3 separate regions of the Homo sapiens genome follow, and all the other regions are linked to region 1. The links are contacts of gene promoters, found by promoter capture Hi-C in blood cells and fetal thymus (Javierre and others, 2016). All regions are on one chromosome and are shown on one strand. The core of a region is centred on a gene start or on the middle of the fragment in contact, and the rest is flanking DNA. Distances in the headings are between cores, read along the strand shown. Region 1 holds the start of UBE2V2 (ubiquitin conjugating enzyme E2 V2). Region 2 has its middle 65 kb from the start of LINC00293. Region 3 has its middle 82 kb from the start of LINC00293.

Region 1 (3,824 bases), core at 445-2,944:
CTAACCTTTGGTCTTTTCAAAATATTAACATACACTCATGTATAGTGTTATGAAAAAATTGTGTTTAATAATGCAACCCACAAAAGGAAAATGAAAAGTATTAAATTAAAATGCATTATTTTATTACTAAATTTTCAAAAATCTATAAGAGGTCCTAAGCACAACTGTTATAAAGATATGGCCCCGTTAACGAGCACAGATTAGATTTCAGCAAGCACAGTAAAGTCATAACACTAAAATTCCACTTTTAAAACAATCCTTGCCTTACTAGCTAGCTGACCCAAGTATGTATACTACCCCAACACTAGAACTGCTAAAGATCTTAAAACCTATGACACCTATATGTAATAAAGATGTAAAAGACACCACTTAATTAAAATGTATGCAGAATGTATCCTGAGGTATTACTCTAAAGCAACAATTACAACATATATTCAAAGCCTTCCATTTCAGTACATATAGATTTGAAAATTCATTTTATTATGCAATGATGGCATAAACTATTAAATCACACTGCTCTATACTCTTGTTTCAACGAAGACTAGGAAAAGGCAGATCAGGCCGAGCGCGGTGGCTCACACCTGTAATTCCAGCACTCTGGGAGGCCGAAGTGGGCGGATCACCTGAGGTCAGGAGTTCGAGACCAGTCTGGCCAACATGACAAAACCCCGTCTCTACTAAAAATACAAAAATTAGCCGGGCCTGGTGGCACGCGCCTGTAATCCCAGCTACTTGGGAGGCTGAGGCAGGAGAATCACTTGAACCTGGGAGGTGGAGGTTGCAGTGAGCCGAGATCACACCACTGCATTCCAACTGGGCAACAGGGTGAGCCTCTGACTCAAAAAAAAAAAAAAAAAGAAAAGAAAAGAAAAAGGCAGATCACACGGGTTAACATTTTTAAATGTAAACTAAAGCTTAACGTTTTTAACATTTCTGAAATGGTCTAATGTCTAAAACCTCAACGTTAATACTTGTGTGCTCACAGGAAACCAAACATTGTATTCAGTAGGAAAGAGGAGTTGAACAGCTTATCTAAGAAACCACTTGTTCTTCAATTAGCTTTCATCTTGCTCTGGTCTTTTATTTTGTTTGCACTGCAGTTTTCCTCATAAATAATAAAAAGATCACACGTATTCAGTCAGGTAAGAAAGATCCTCTCGCTCTTATTTTAAGGAGCAATCGTCCTCTACTCCCCAACCCATGTCAAGGAGAGTCCAAAGGAATGGGACCCCTACTCTGATCCAGGACACCTCTTGGCCTGACCCATCTTCGGTGCCGGTTGGCCTGACCCATCTTCGGTGCCGGAGGTTGACACCCGCCCACCTTGGGCCTCCTCGCCTCCCTCCCGTAGAGCCTTCAGCCTACAACTCGGACCCGCGCCCGCCGGAACCTACGGGGGCGCCCGCGCGGGAGCCACCCCGCCCCCAGCCCGCCGGCGCGCGGCCGACGCGCGAGCACGACCCGCCAACCCGACGGCCGCCGGGGCCTCGGCGCCGGTCCCACCCGGTCCCAGGCTACGCTCTGCGGAGAGCGCGGCATTCGAGACAGCGCACTCGGGCTTCTCCCGCACGGTCAGCGCTCGGGCGCCAGCAGCAGACGGAGGGGCAGAGCCGGGTCGGAGCGGAAAATCACGCAGCCCGGCCCGGGAACCGACCTGTGGAGACCGCCATCTTCTCCTGCAGCCCGACGCAGCCGCCCGCACGCACGCACGAACCGTCGCGCGTCACTTCCGGGAGCGCGCCGCCCTGCACGCGTCACAGCGGACTCCGCCCCCGGCGGGCGCGGGGCGACCCGAGGGACAGCGCGCACGTGGGCCGAGGGGTCGCGGGGCCTCGCTGCTGTTTCCGCAATTCCCTTGTGAATCCCGCTCTCAAAATGAAACGCTAAAGAATAAGTTCATGAGGGCCGGGCGCGGTGGCTCACGTCTGTAATCCCAGCACTTTGGGAGGCCGAGGCGATCGGATCACCCGAGGTCAGGAGTTCGAAACCAGCCTGGCCAACATGGCGAAACCCCGTCTCTACTAAAAATACAAAAATTAGCCGGACGTGGTGGCGCGCGCCTGTAATCCCAGCTATTTGGGAGGCTGAGGCACGAGAATCGTTTGAACCGGGGAGGCGGAGGGGCAATGAGCCGCGATTGCGCCACTGCACTCCAGCCTGGACAACAGAGCGAGACTCCGCCTCAAAAAAATAAATAAAAATAAGTGGGCATTGACAGATTTGCGTTGATAAACGATTCAAAAGAGTTGGACAATAAATTTGAACAGCTAGGGATGCTGAGGTGGGAGGGTCACGTGAGCCCAAGAGGTGAGGCTGCAGTGAGCAGAAATCGCTGCACTCCAGCCTGGGCAACAGAGGGAGACTCCATTTCAAAAAAAAAAAAGAAAGAAAGAAAAAGGAAAGTAATACAGGCTGGGCGCCGAAGCTCACTTCTGTAATCCTAACACTTTGGGAGGCTGAGGCAGGAGGATGGCTTGAACCCAAGACTTTGAGACCAGCTTGGACAACATAGTGATACCTAGTCTCTACATAAAACTGAAAAAAAAAAAAAAAAAAGATTTTTCACATCCCTTGTAGGTTGTATTCCTAGGTATTTTTATTCTCTTTGTAGCAATTGTGAATGGGAGTTCACTCATGATTTGGCTCTCTGTTTGTCTGTTATTAGTGTATAGGAATGCTTGTGATTTTTGCACATTGATTTTGTATCCTGAGACTTTGCTGAAGTTGCTTGTCAGCTTAAGAAGATTTGGGGCTGAGACTATGGGGTTTTCTAAATATACAATCATGTCATCTGCAAACAGAGACAATTTGACTTCCTCTTTTCCTAATTGAATACCCTTTATTTCTTTCTCTTGCCTGATTGCCCTGGCCAGAACTTCCAATACTATGTTGAATAGGAGTGGTGAGAGAGGGCATCTTTGTCTTGTGCCGGCTTTCAAAGGGAATGCTTTTGGCCGGGCATGGATCCCAGCACTTTGGGAGGCGGAGGCGGGCGGATCACGAGGTCAGAAGATCAAGACCATCTTGGCTAACACAGTGAAACCCTGTCTCTACTAAAAAAAAAAAAATACAAAAAATTAGCCAGGCATGGTGGCAGGCCCCTGTAGTCCCAGCTACTCGGGAGGCTGAGGCAGGAGAATGGCGTGAACCCGGGAGTTGGAGCTTGCAGTGAACCGAGATGGCGACACTGCACTCCACCCCAGCCTAGGGGACAGAGCGAGACTCCATCTCAAAATAAAAAAAAATAAAAAATAAAAAGAATCCTTCATTCCAGTTTTCGCCCATTCAGTATGATATTGGCTGTGGGTTTGTCGTAAATAGCTCTTATTATTTTGAGATACATTCCATCAATGCCTAGTTTATTGAGAGTTTTTAGCATGAAGGGCTGTTGAATTTTGTCGAAGCCTTTTCTGCATCTATTGAGATAATCATGTGGTTTTTGTCATTGGTTCTGTTTATGTGATGGATTACATTTATTGATTTGCATATGTTGAAGCAGCCTTGCATCCCAGGGATGAAGCCGACTTGATCTTGGTGGATAAGCTTTTTTGATGTGCTGCTGGATTCGGTTTGCCAGTATTTTATTGAGTATTTTCGCATCAATGTTCATCAGGGGTATTGAGCCCACGTAGCCAAGGCAATCGTAAGCAAAAGGAACAAAGCTGGAGGCATCACACTACCTACCTGACTTCAAACTATACTGCGAGGCTACAGTAAAAAAAATTGCCTAGTACTGGTACCAAAACAGATATATAGATCAATGGAACAGAACAGAGGCCTCAGAAATAACTCCACATATCTACAACCATCTGATCTTTGACAAA
Region 2 (3,824 bases), core at 803-3,302, 1.1 Mb after region 1:
TTCTTCCTGAGAGCCACCTTTCTGTCCCCAAAGACAGGGACCAGGTCCTGAAGGCAAGGATGGGTATTACTCTGTTTGTACGTCTTATGGGGCACTGTGGTGATGGCTTTATATGCATTATCTCATTAATTTTTGGAACATTATTCATAAAATTGGTATAATTAAACTCTTTCTAAAGCTAAGGAAACAGATTTAGAGTAACAGTGGTTTTATTGGGTGGTCTAGCTAATAAACTGCAGAATGAGAACTCGAACCCAGGTCTGCAGGAATTCAATAATGTGTGCTCCAGACACGCATTGCTGTGGACAATAATGATGGACTTCCCAGTTAAACTAAGAGACAAAGCTGAGCATGCAGCCTGTAGGACATAGGGCTCATGACCAAGAGTTGGGAGAACAGAATCTTGTGTTGGCTCCAAGTAAATATCATATACATCTGTTGACTCATGGGACATGTGGCACCAGGAGTCCCTGCAGAGGATGCATGCCTTCTCTGTTTACAGGGTCCTGGCAGGAACACTTGCTGCAGTAGGAGGAGCAGGCCCTGAGCAAACCCAGATATTTCCAGGTGTCTGCCCAGGGGAGAATTGGTGCAGAGGACCCCAATTGTGCATCCAGACTCCTGACAGCACTGAGGGCGATGTCCAAAGACAGAGATTTAGGTGAGCACGAGAGAACAAGTCAGAAAGTGAGCAAACCTCTTTCTCCCACGTCGATCCTTTTCCATTACAGTCTGGGATTCTTTCAAGACCAGGGCAAGAATGTGGCCTCTCTGTGAAGTTGAACGGTGGCTCCTTGTCTGCACGTGCCCTGATGAGAGCGAGAGGCCCCAGGCTGAGCCTGGGCTATGCAGGAGCATGCTAGATGCCTGGGAGAGGCACAAGGTGCTTTGCCTGGCAAAAGCTGGCTTTCGTTTTTTGCCTTAGACTCTTTTCTGTGAGGTTAGATCTTCAGCACTGCTGAAAAAGATTGATTGCCAGACAGATCCCATTCTCAGGCCATGAGCCGGTGGAGGCTCTGGAGGCTTAGACAAATTGATGATCCAGGAACCCGGGGTGTGGGGCTTGAGATATGTGTGCAAGAGCAGGCCAGGATCTGCAAAGACAAGAGAGACCTAGCATTATTCCCCAGCAGCAAAATGGGCCACACATGTGAGGGGGCAGGAGCTTCATTATCTCCATCAGACAAGGTTCAAAATCCTCTATGAAAATCACCAGTATTTCCCTCACTGTCATCCTGCTTCCCAAAGGCCAACAGTCCAAAAATGCAGTTACTTGGACCTGATCCTGAGTTTTTTCAGGCCTGGGGCTTCCTAAGATCACCGGGTAGGTCCTGCCTCTGGCCAGACCCAGATCCCAGGCTGGAGGGGACAGGAGAATGTAGTTCAAGAAGTACAGAAGCCAGGAGCTATCAGATAAGGTCTCTCTAAGGCCTGAAAACCAAGCCATTTCACCCTCATGGAATAAGAACCAGTGTTAGGATCACAGAATCATGAACATTGAAAGTGGAAGGAACCCAGGCTCAGCTCCCTGTAGATCTAGAGTCAGAAGATTCAATTTCAAGTCTGATTTCTGCCTCTCACCAGTGGGTGACTTTGGCTGCATCACCAGCCTCTCTGAGCCTCTTTGTCTCCACCTACAAAGTGGGGTTGTGGTGCCCCCTTGCAGGCCCACTGTGAGCATAGGGCAAGTGCATGTCCGGGTCAGCCAGAACCCCTGGCATGTGGTGGGTGGCTGATGCACACCAGCTTTTATCACTGCTGTCTGTGAAGACGGACTGACCACACAGTCACATGCTTCATTTGAAGCAGATTTCAGTTGGCTCAGATAGTCAGAAGAAAATAACTCTTCCATCATAAGGCATTATTCTAGATGGGTCTACTTTATGTGCAGCCCTAGGAGCTCACCCCGCTCATGCCAGAATCCCTGGCTTATGCTTGGATCAGCTACAGTGAAGCCTGGGGAACTGGGGGTATTTGAAGGGAGTATGGGGAAGTTACTATGGAAAAGTAACAATATCAATAGATAACGTTCACTAAGCATCTGCTAGATATAAGGTGGTTTTCCACGTGTTTTTCCTACGTGTGGTGACTATTCAGTAGTACAATTATTATTCCCATTTCACAGATGGAGAGTGAGGCCTGGAGTATGGGTCATGAGCAGCAGATCTGGGTTTCAGCCCCAGGCATTCTAGCTGCAGAGCCTGTGCCCTGAGCCCTGCCCTGTACTGCATGTGAGCCCTCCTACCAGGTTTCCTACCCTCGGGCTGATGGGATTCTTAATAACGAGATCTTTCTATAGAAAACAGGGAGCTGAAAGAACAATAGGGTATGCTGAGGCAAGAGCCCTGGTAGCAGGGCCCAGAGGTGTCAGAGGGGTCTGGAGACAGAGAACCAGCGAGGGGGAGGATGCCCCAAAGCAAAGGGATGGAGACTTGGTGGGAACATGTGGGGGACATGGGTTGGCTGGAGAGAGGGTTATGAAGAGAAAAGCATGATTGTATTTTAGCTTTAAGCAGCAGAAGAGCTGCTTACTGGGATGACCATTTTAAAAATTTGTCCGGATAAGTCTTGGACAAACCTCTGGAATCATCAGTTCCTGAAGCCATGAAAGCCCAGCATGAGTAGCTGAGTCAGGTCCTTCAGTCAGTGCATTGCACAATGCCTTGTCAGAGAGGAAGAAAGTTACAGCTCTGGAATCCATCTGCAGTGTCTTCTTAAGGATGCAGATGCATTTTTAAATTAGCTTTTAGACAAATAACCATAAGGGATGAAGCAGTGAGGGTAAACGAACCTTATGAAATTGTCAGTGGCTCTCTGGCAGTGCAGCCCCTAGGACCTCACGGTCTCTGGGAGTGCTGGGATGAGCCATAGCATTTTCCACTCTCTGCCAATGGCCGCCCCAGGCAATGCCAGGAGCTAGAATAGCACTGCAGGAAACACCAGGAGAGTCACTCTTTCACAAGCCAGAGAAAGACTGGAACACCATATTTTGCAGTCTGGAGATTTTTTGAGTAGAATTGCATCTTAGCCTTCCCATACAGAGGAGTATTTACTCTTTCTTTTAAAGTTTTCATAAAGAGAAACCAGACAATCTTCTCTCTGTAGTATCACATCCCTTGTAATTAAATAGCTGTTGTGTTTGTTTGTATTGACTTCCTTTGGCTCTTGTCTATTAAAAACAGAGTGCAGATAAAAGAAGATCATTCTTGGAGCCAAAATTTACTGGTTGCATGACCCACTGAAGTTTTCGTAGGACTTTCTGAACCTCAGTTTTCTCATCTGTAAAATTAGAGCACTGGCTTGTTTTATAGTGTTAGAGGCCCATAAGAAATTTGTAAGCACAAATGAGACAGACTTGTGTACACAAGAATAATTACACAACCTGAGTAGCAGACGGCAGATGCCCAGTGCCAAAGACTCACCCTGACTACAGGCAGTGAGAAGATGCAGACCAAGAATGGGTGCCTGGGTGGAGCTTCGTGGAAGAGGCAAAACTTGTACTGGTTGGAGAGCAGAGTTTGGACAGAGAATGATGCCAGGTTAGCTTTGGCAAAGGAGGTGCATAAGCAGGGTCTCTGAACCTGAGGTCACAAAGTTTAGGTGAATATCTACCTCTTGGTGAGAACCTGGGTGACACAGTGGCCTCTGTATCCTGAAGAGACTTATGTGAGAGCATTCATGAAAATAAATACAGTAACAATTCTTCAGAGAATTGTGCATGTTACATGACATGATATTTGTAAAGGAAATGGCATATGACAGAAACCTAATACACACATGCTTGTCTCCTCTTACCAGATTGTAAGATGAGGCTGCCCTGATTC
Region 3 (3,824 bases), core at 632-3,131, 1.1 Mb after region 1:
ATGTGTCTTGAATCCTACTTTCGGCTCAAATCCTGGGGTGCTATTGGCTGAGGAAAAGTCCTCCTTTTGCTGCCTTTGAGATGTTTGTAAAGCCCCATGGCCCCCCAGCCTGGCCTGTTTCCCCTGGGAGGCCTCCCCATGGGCAGGACATGCTATGTGCTTCTCATGCCTGATGGGGCTGCTCATGCAAGCCCAGGTGAAGTGATGGGTGATGGAACCTGGGAGGGATGGTGTGAGTCCTTATGCTTCTTGCCCTGGTGCTCAACAATTCTCCTTGGGACCCAAGTGGCCCCAGATGTTGGCATGCATCAGGAAGGATCCAAGAACAGCTGGGCTGGCCCGATGGTCTACCTCATGGGTTTCAGGGCACTGAGAGCTGGCCAGTCACATTCCCATGGCAGCCCAACAAGGCCCAGCAGAGGGGTGGGTGGTGGGATGGCAGGGCTTGTAGGGCAGAGCATTCTGATGGGCCAGGGCCTAGTTTGAGTAGGGCTGCTCTGTGGGCCTATATCCACAGGCATTGCTGTGGCTTTGGCCAAGACCTCTGGGCTCCCTGAACATCAGGCAGCCTCTCCTCCTTTAGGGAAGATGGACAGTTACCCCTGAGCAGGGCCATGCGGGGCAAAGCACAATGGTGGTTGTGAAGTTTTTTCAGAGACAAGATGCTGTAACCACAACACGTGTGGATTTCCACTGCAGGAGCACCCAGTGCCATGTTAAAAGACATGTGAGTTTGGAGTTTATGTGGGTATGGTATTGGCTTAGTGGTTTCTCCCCATCTTTTTTGTCTACTTTTCTCTTTGTCTACCTGCTTGCCATGAGCCTGAGGGCAGGGCCTGAATCCAGCAGCACCAGAACCCAGGTGGCCTGGCTCTCCAATAAATGGAAAAGAAAGCTGGGTGGAAATATGGAGGACAATGGTAAAGGCCTGGATTACAACTGAGTATAGACAGATCTGAAGTGGCCAGTGTCCAGGTGCTGAACTTATAATAGTCCATCCTATGCGGCTTAGCGATTCCAGCCATCAGCCATTCCTGGTCCCTGCTCTGCCTGCCTGCAGACACCAGGCTCCCCACAAGGCACTTTCCCACTGCCCTTGATCTCAGGGCATTCATGTCTCCCTGCTCTATTCGGAAACTATCCTGCACAGACCACAGCTAAGCACACCACTACCATAAGAGTCTAGCTGCATTTCTCTCTGGCCCCAACTCTGGCCCTCACTCCTCATTCTGGTTTCCTCTCTTTAACCTCTGAGCCTCTGCACTTGCTGTTCCTCTTGCCGAGCACACCCTTCCTCTCCATTCCACATAGTACAATCTTACTCATGCATCAAGCCTGAACACAGGAGGATGGCTCCGACCACTCGGTGAGTTCCCACTTCTCTAAATTCCTGTTATTAGATCACCAGTCCTCTTACTTTGTCCTCAATTGTAGTTGGACATGATTGATTTAAACGACAGAGGCATTTGTCTGGCTTCGTCTCTGAGACTGCCATCTCCCTGTAGACAGGGAGCAAACGTTGTGCATCTTCTATGTGTCTCCGCAGCTTGCATGGTGTTGGCAAGTAACCGAGACTGGCATGTGCATTGAGGTGGATGGGCGAGCAGGCCAAACACCGCTCCCAGGAAGATGGAGAAGATAGGCAGAAAGGCGGCAAGGATGCAAGACAGAGAAAAGCTTGGGGTGAAAAAATCCTACCTAGGTGCAGGTGCTGGGGCTGCAGACCCTAGAGCTTCTCAAAGGCAACTTGATGTTTTATAGTTCCATCCAGTCTCCAGCATCACCGTGTGGCCGCAGCATCTGTGGTATCCAAGCGACTTTATCCCTGGGGGAGTATGGGCATCTCCCTGGGAGGGTGTCCACAGGAGGACGTCAGGGCTCTGTGGGTGGCCTGGCATCTGGGGTCTGGGGATCGTGCTTGGAAGGAATCAGATAATGCCTGGAATCCAAGGCTTGACTCCTCCTTGTCTCCTAAGAGCTCCTTGGGAGTTGGGCTCCCGTTAAGTGGTTTTTGACCCCAGTTTTCCTGATTCTCAGATTCATCTGGCATGGAGGCTGGGTAGCTTTTCTGCATTCTGAAGCTTTCTTCCCACTGGCAGTGAGTTTATGGGAGTGCTTCTGTGCTGTTGTTCTATTTTTTACAGGAAAGGTTGAGTGACACTTCGAGGACAGGGCACACAGGCTGCCTTTGGGCCAGTTCCCAGCCAACAGGAAGTCACAGCTGGCTTTTGAGTTGGGAAGAGCTGGATTTCATTTTCATGTGACCCTGAGTCTGTTTCCTTATCCAGAAAACAGAGAGAACAATGGAATCCAGCTAACAGGGTTGGAGTGGGGAGGGATGGCTTACAGCAGAGCCTACCCGGGGACAGGCATGGCTGTGCTGGAGTGGCTGAAGCCACCTCACTCCTCTGAGCCTCAGCTCTCATCTGTAGAATGCTGCATCCTTAGGTCTGTCCCAGCTCCATTCCAGTCAGTCATGATGTGCTGATGGGCACCTCCCTGGCCAGGCGACCATCCATGGCTCAGCAGCCCAGCATAGGAACAGGTGTGTCTAAGAGCTTGGTGGGGCAGAGCCCACGTGCTCCCCCTTCACCGCCTTCCCCATCCCCAAAGGTCTCTGCACAGAGGCAGGTAAGCATATTTGGGAACAGAATAAAAGAGCAATCAAGGATTCTTTTGGGATCTGTGAATGACGGTAGTAACAGTTATTAAGCTCCTACTGTGTGCCAGAGAATTCTAGGAGACACTCCATGTGTGATAAATAACAGGACTCACAAGAGCCCCATGAAGGGCTGCTGTTGCCTGCGTTCTGTGGAAGTGGAAATTGAGCTTTAGAAGAATGAGCTGATCTGCCCATGACACACAGCTGGCAGGCAGAAGCGGAACCTGAGCCGACACCACCTGTGCAGACCCCAGGGCCTCTCACCTGCCCTCCCTAACCCAGAGGGATCTTCTTTATTTCAGCAGAGCCAGTGCATGGCACATGTGGATGGTGGGTCTCACCCCACATCCTCTGGGACATCGGCAAGAGACAGGAGTGACTTGGTGGGTGAGGGGCTGGCATGAACACCTAGCACAGTGTGGGGCAGGAGGGCAGGGCACTGCAGGACCTTGTGATGGGCAGCAGGGGCACAGCTTCCTCGGTGCCCTGTCCATTCATTTATCACTCAGCCATCTTCCGAGTGTCTGCTGGCAATGTGTCATCTGCCAGGCATCGTCTGATTCTCCTGGGTCTGACTGCAGACAGACTGTGCTGCCCTGGGAGCACGTGTCCCAAAGCAAGCCCATGGGAGAGGAGGGGTGACACCAATTTTTGCCCCACCCAGCCTGTTCCTCCTTCCCCTGAGCCCTGACCTGTCCTTCTCCAGGGGAGCCCCTGGCCTCCAGTCCCCTTCACCCAGACAACTCCGCAGCTCATTCTCCTTTCCAGGGCCCTCTGAGGATAAGCAACACAGGCTGTGTGCACTGAGATGAGAACTTCTGACCCTTTCTCCTCCTTTCCCTGGAGATCTAATTTAAAAGGTCTGGAGCAGGAGCCTGGGGGTCAGCGCATGGATTTTTGAAGGGCCAGTGAAGGTGCTGCCCTCTGGGCTTCTCTGGCAGCCTGCCTGGCCCCCTGTGCCTCTCCCCTCCTCCCCTCCCCTGTAACTGCCCAGCCCTGAGAGGAAACAGAGCTCCCTCCCTGAGGTCACAGCCTCCTGTGCATGGGCTGGCATCCCAAGCCCTGAAGGACAGGATGTCCTGATGAGCAGAAACCCTCTCCAGGCCTGGGATGAGTGTGGCAGCCACAGGAGTGGGCTCTCGGGTGGGATGGGTCCTTGGAG

Evidence for each region. Contacts are between HindIII fragments. The CHiCAGO score rates a contact against its expected background, and 5 or more counts as called.
Region 2: a fragment that was not itself captured here is called in contact with the fragment with the promoter of UBE2V2 in region 1 in 1 of 17 cell types (total B cells); the score reaches 5.4 in total B cells.
Region 3: a contact is called between a fragment that was not itself captured here and the fragment with the promoter of UBE2V2 in region 1, in 1 of 17 cell types (total B cells). The highest score is 5.4, in total B cells.

The regions. Positions count from the first base shown.
Region 1 is chr8:48,006,301-48,010,124 of GRCh38, reverse strand. It overlaps UBE2V2 (ubiquitin conjugating enzyme E2 V2), which reads right to left and starts at 1,694. Exons shown (of 4, transcript NM_003350.3): 1 at 1,655-1,694. The coding sequence starts at 1,670. RefSeq lists silencers at 1,299-1,498, 1,729-1,988. The HindIII fragment of the contact is 2,629 bases long and covers 917-3,545 here.
Region 2 is chr8:46,903,677-46,907,500 of GRCh38, reverse strand. No RefSeq gene overlaps it. Among named protein-coding and RNA genes, the nearest start is that of LINC00293, 65 kb to the right of the region's middle. The HindIII fragment of the contact is 7,035 bases long and covers 1-3,824 here.
Region 3 is chr8:46,920,843-46,924,666 of GRCh38, reverse strand. No RefSeq gene overlaps it. Among named protein-coding and RNA genes, the nearest start is that of LINC00293, 82 kb to the right of the region's middle. The HindIII fragment of the contact is 404 bases long and covers 1,680-2,083 here.